Regions from separate parts of the Homo sapiens genome. Here region 2 is linked to region 1. Evidence: promoter capture Hi-C in 16 types of primary human blood cells and fetal thymus (Javierre and others, 2016). All regions are on one chromosome and are shown on one strand. The core of a region is centred on a gene start or on the middle of the fragment in contact, and the rest is flanking DNA. Distances in the headings are between cores, read along the strand shown.

Region 1 (2,851 bases), core at 149-2,648:
CACGGCTCAGGGAGTTGGATTCCAGATTGCTTTTGAAGCCTTCCCCAGGTCACATCACACCGCTGTTCCCAGCCGTTCCAGGTCTTCCTGTTGACTGTAGGATCAAGTCCATTCCCCCAATCTGACCTCAGTCTACGTTTTTGGGCTCTTTGCCCACTAGTCTCCTAAATAAGTCCTCTGCGCCCCACAAACCAGTCTCCACCCAGCCTCCAGTGCTGCCAGCCTCCTCCACCCCCACCTGGAGCAGTGACATTCATGGATAGCTCCTCCAGCGGTCTCGAAAAATGAACATTTTAGGGTTCCACTTTTTGCTGTTGGTGTCCCCCTAATGCGAACATCCTGTCCTTGAGGGCTGATTCTTTTTACAATAGTTGTCCCAACGGGGGAAGTCATTTCACCTTTCTGACTTAGTTTCCTTATCTGCAAAATGGAGCCAGTAGTGTCTCATAGGGTACAGTGCCTGCACACACGCCCATCCACGGCTGTTCCAGGCCTTTCCTCCACTGCGGGGGGGTGCCAGGGGTCCAGAGGCGAGGAGGAGGGGGCCGCTGGACGCTGGGAAATTGGGAGGACCCCAAGATCCCTGTAGGGATCCACGGTAGAGGGGGAGGGCTTCTCTGTCCTCTCTATCCATTCGGACCTCCGCATTTCTAAGAACCAGCATCGCACCATGTCACTGAGAAAGAGCGCGCACACCAGCCGCCTTTTGAAAGTCACAAATAGATTCCTTCAGTGAATTCAGGACAGACTCCCCGGGGGCAGGTCCCGGGGCGGGAGCCGGTGTGGGTAGTGCTGCGCGGCCCTTAACTGTTTACCAGGCGCGTTTCGCTGACCTCGTCTCCTGGACCCCCTTTCGTGACCCCTCTCAACACCTCTACTGGGGAGACGAGGACCCCGAGGTTCTGGGGGGCGACGCGACCTGCCCGAAGTGACAAGGGTCCTGGGCCGCACTGCTCCGCCGGGGTCTGCGCTCCTCGGCGGAGCGGGTGGGAAGGATGAGTCCTCGGGGTGGAGAAGGAGGAGCGGGTCCCCGGGTACCGCTCACCCGGCCTTAGGAGCCCGGGAGCGCGCGTAGGGACGCGGAGTTGAGGCTCTCCATCTGCGGCCAGGGAAAGGGATACAGTCCCCCGGGCCCCTCCCGGCCGCTCGGAACCCACCCCAGGCGCGTCCCCGCGGGCGCGCGCTCCAGGCGGGGCCGACGGGCTCGGAGGCGCGCGCCCGCTGCCGGGTCCGCCGCGCGCGCTCCCTCCGCTCCTCTCCCCCGCCCCTCCCGGGCCCGCGCGCTCCCAGGGTCCGCCGCGCGCGCGCCTCGCGTCGCTCCCCATCCCCGCCCCTCCCGCCGCCACCCCGCCCCCGGCCGGGTACCCTCGCCGGACCCGAGAGAGAGCGCCGCCGCCATCTTAGTTGCTGCCGCTGCCTTCAGCAAGACGCTGCTCTGAGGCGGGGAGGGCGCCGCGTCCTGAGCGCGCGGCCCAGCGTCACGGCGGCGGCGGCGGCGGCTCCTCCTTGGACCCCCGGAGCTCCCCGCGCCGCGGAGCAGCTAGCCCCAGGCCCCTAGAGCCCCGAGAGCTCCGAGAGCTCCGCTCGGCGTCCCGCGCGCCTCCCTGCCGCTCCCGCCCCGGGCTGGCGATGCTGCGCCGCCCCGCTCCCGCGCTGGCCCCGGCCGCCCGGCTGCTGCTGGCCGGGCTGCTGTGCGGCGGCGGGGTCTGGGCCGCGCGAGGTAAGCCCCGGGGCTGGGCCGGGCCGCTGGGTCGGTGCGGGATTCGGGTCCGGGTGCAGGATTCGGGTCCCGGTGCGGGGATTCGGGTCCGGGTGCGGGAGTAGGGCCGGATGCCGGGATTCGAGCCGGGATGCGGGGAGTCGGGTCCGAGCGCAGGGAGCCGGGTCAGGGCGTGGGGTTCGGGTTGGGGGTCGGGCTCGCGGAGCCGGGGCCAGGGCGCAGGAGACTGTGGGCGCGCGCTGCAGGCGTCCCGGGGAAGCCAGGCTCCGTCCCGGGCGGGGCTCCTGAGCCTGGGCTGCCCCCACTGCAGCCCATGGTGGTGGCTGCGCTGATTTGGGGGAACGTGCAGACGGGCCGAAGGGTCAGTCCGCCCTGCTCAGCGGCGCACGCAGGCTGGGGCTGCACCCCTGGGTGAGATGCTCTGTGTACGTGTGCTCAGATGTGCATCAGGCGGGGGGTGCACGCACAGTTTTGGTGTGTGCTTACATAAGAGCCCACTCCTCCGCATCCCGTTTCCAAGATCCCGATTCTGTGTTGCTGCACCGCGGACACCACGACTTCGCCCCTTTCCGCCTCCTCCCAGAGTCCTTCAGACGTTGTCTGTTTCCAGTGGAGCCGAGGCTGAAACTTAGTGCTTCCCTCCCACCTTTTCACCCAAAGGTGAAATCGCGATGAGATTTGCGACCGCGGGCTCACCCAGTGTTAGAAATCTCCGTCTCTGCTACCCCTGGTGCCTTGGTGCTGTTTTTCTGACGGTCATTTAGACCGTGGAGGGTTAGATGTTCTCTACAAAAACGAGAAACCTCTCTGGTTTTTTAGGATTGTAGGACCGAAATTATTTTATGGCTCGGTGGGAAGTAGTATTTCTTGGCTAATTTATTATTAGCTTTTAACCTTCATCCACTTAACCTTTTAAACCTTGCATGCCTCTGCTATTGACTGGTCTTGCCAACGAAAAGCTTACGCATTGCAGATACAGTATTTGCTTCTGAGTGGATCTTGAAATCGTAAACATTTTCCTTGGCCTTAGAGCAGAGTAATCTAGGTGTAGTCTGTAGAATCTACTGTAGGCTTAAATCTGTTGTTCTGATTTTTTTTTAATCAAAAGAAATTTTGGGGAGGAGGATTGAT
Region 2 (2,851 bases), core at 124-2,623, 240 kb after region 1:
ATTGTCAAGGTTACAACTGTGTCTATTTCCCACCTCAGCTGTATTTGGACAGGAAAGTCACATAACCTAGAGAGACAATGAAAAATTAAGTTCTTTTTAGAACCTTTTCCAACTCTAGGATTTGGTCAACTATGGACACTTACACATACACGAAAGTACAAAATAACTTTTTTTTTTTTTTTTTTGAGGCAGAGTCTCACTCTATTACTCAGGCTGGAGTGCAGTCGGTACGATCTTGGCTCACTGCAACCTCTGCCTTCTGGGTTCAAGTGATTCTCCTGCCTCAGCCTCCTGAGTAGCTGGGATTACAGGCACCTGCCACCACACCCAGCTAATTTTTGTATTTTTAGTAGAGACGGGGTTTCGCCATGTTGGCCAGCCTGGTTTCGAACTCCTAATCTCAGGTGATGTGCCCATCTTGGCCTCCCAAAGTGCTGGGATTACAGCAAAATAACTTTTAAGGGGTTAAAAAAAGCTTAGTTTCAATGAGACTTAATGTTAAAATAATTCATGGTTTTCTACTCCCAATTAAGCAAATGCTAATTTGTATGAAGTATGGCAATACCTTCAACGAATTCTTTTCTTATATTTTTCAGTTTCCTCCTCCTCCTGGAAACGTTTTCTACTCTGCCCAGCTCAAAAGCCACCCTCTCCTTTGCCAGCCTTTGCCCACCTGGGCCTCCTTCCCAGACACCTAGAGTTGGACATTCGTCACTCCTGCCCTCACACAGACCTCAGACCCTGGGAGGCATCACTGACCTCTTTCCTCAGATGTCCTCTGGGGTCAGCTTAGTGCTCCAGGACACAAAGGGGACTCAGCACCTGTTACTGAGTTGACTGTATGCATTTGCCATAGCTGACAGTACAGAAGGCTTATGAAAATAAAACCTGTTTTTCATGGCACAATAAACTAAGCATTTTTTAAAATAAGTAGGCCAGTAGGTCAAGAATTCTATAACTCAAAAAAATAAACTTACCCAAAGTAGCCTTAAGGCTCCATTAGAAATAGAGGCTGAATGATTATTATTATTATTATTATTATTATTATTTTTTTTTTTTTGAGACAGAGTCTCGCTCTGTTGCCAGGGTGGAGTGCAGTGGCTTGATCTCGGCTCACTGCAACCTCCACCTCCCGGGTTCAAGCGATTCTCCTGCCTCAGCTTCCCAAGTAGCTGGGACTACAGGCGTGCGCCACCACGCCCAGCTAATTTTTGTATTTTTAGTAGAGACGGGGTTTCACCATGTTGGCCAGGCTGGTCTCAATCCCTTGACCTCATGATCCGCCCGCCTCAGCCTCCCAAAGTGCTGGGATTACAGGCGTGAGCCACCGTGCCCCGCCGAGGCTGAGTAAGTTTGGCTCCCATATTATCATTTTGATTCAAGGAATATTAAATACAATCCAGATTTTTAGCTTCCTTGAAAACAGCAAAAGTTCAGCAACCCAGGACCTGCGTTTCTGCACAACAAGTTTTGGCTATAATCAGCTGGATTTGAGTAAGGTCGAGTTCCCACCACTCACGTGACCTCTGTCCATGCGGTTAGAGCTGTTTCCCTCATACTCACTGACCTTACCTGCAGGGATCCTGCGCCTCAATGTGCGCCTCAGAAGTCTAGATATACCCACAAACAACAAACGTGACAGCTGTTTTACTGCTCTGGAAGAACAAAAGCAAAACATACCGTGTGGATAAGCAATGCAGGAGGCACAGCCCTTAGAAAGAGCAGCAGCTGCCATAAGTCCAAAAAAACTTGTGGAATTTTTCTCAGTCCCATTTGCAGAAGAGGCTAATGGAGCTTCTTTCAGATACTTCTTTAAACTTTCATAAATAGCAAAGCAGATTATAGTTTCGGAAATTCCAGCATACGAGGCAGTTAATCCTCTATAGAAGCCACGAATGCCTTCGGTCTGGTAAACGTAACGAGCACACTGGAGTGTATTCATCTGCTTAGAGCCCCTCACTCTGCATAAAAGAGACCAACACAGGCTGTTAAGGAGACATATCATGGTGGAACACAGACATCACACAGTAGGAGAACAGGTACGGGTCTTCCTTATGGTGTTAGGATACTTGTTTCCTGGCTCCTAACTCTCATAGCCCTTGTCTTTCGTTATGTGGGGTGTGTGAGGCCGCAGGGGCAGCCTCTGACAGTCCCTTGATCTCCTTTCACCTGCCCCAAGGCCATCCTCTAATGTCCTTACCTTGTTGGTCTTACTCCATGAGAGTCCCCTCCTATCTCTGGGAGAAGGAATGCTGCTGACATGAAGCTTCCAGAAAAACCCAAGAGGACAGGGTTCAGGGAGCTTCCAGAGCTGATCGCATGGAGGCTCCTGGAGGGTGGCCCCCGGGGAGGGTATGAAAGCTCCACGCCCCTTACTCTGTACCTGGCCCTACCTGTCTCTTCTTCTGTATCCTTGCGATGTCCTCTATAACAAACCAGTAAACATTAAGTGTTTCCCTGAGTTCTGTGAGCCACTCCAGCACATTAATAGAATCCAAAGAGAGGGTCATGGGAACCCCAACTTGAAGCTGGTCGTTCAGAAGCTCTGGAGGCCCAGACATACAACTGGTGTGTGGGTAAGTGGGTGGGCGGGGGGTGGGCAGTCCTGGGGACTGAGCCCCCAATCTGTGGGGCTGTCTCCTGGTAGACAGTGTCGGAAGTGAATGAGAGGACACCCAGCTGGTGTCCGCTGTTTGGTGTGTGTGGGGAAAACCCCCTACACATTTGGTCACAGAAGTCATCTTCTGTGTCAATGACTGTTGTGGTGTGACAGTGGAGGAAAAACATGGTTTGAGGAGAGTTTTTCCCACATATCTTTGTACTGTTGTCAGCTGACCTCCAGCCCACTGTG

Evidence for each region. Contacts are between HindIII fragments. The CHiCAGO score rates a contact against its expected background, and 5 or more counts as called.
Region 2: a fragment that was not itself captured here is called in contact with the fragment with the promoter of CLSTN1 in region 1 in 2 of 17 cell types (non-activated CD4 T cells and activated CD4 T cells); the score reaches 5.8 in non-activated CD4 T cells.

The regions. Positions count from the first base shown.
Region 1 is chr1:9,822,512-9,825,362 of GRCh38, reverse strand. It overlaps CLSTN1 (calsyntenin 1), which reads left to right and starts at 1,398. Exons shown (of 19, transcript NM_001009566.3): 1 at 1,398-1,720. The coding sequence starts at 1,630. RefSeq lists silencers at 1,137-1,196, 1,217-1,266, 1,437-1,586, 1,597-1,676 and an enhancer at 808-1,524. The HindIII fragment of the contact is 4,716 bases long and covers 1-2,681 here.
Region 2 is chr1:9,579,064-9,581,914 of GRCh38, reverse strand. It overlaps SLC25A33 (solute carrier family 25 member 33), which reads right to left. Exons shown (of 7, transcript NM_032315.3): 6 at 1,681-1,961. Among named protein-coding and RNA genes, the nearest start is that of TMEM201, 8.4 kb to the left of the region's middle. The HindIII fragment of the contact is 1,791 bases long and covers 478-2,268 here.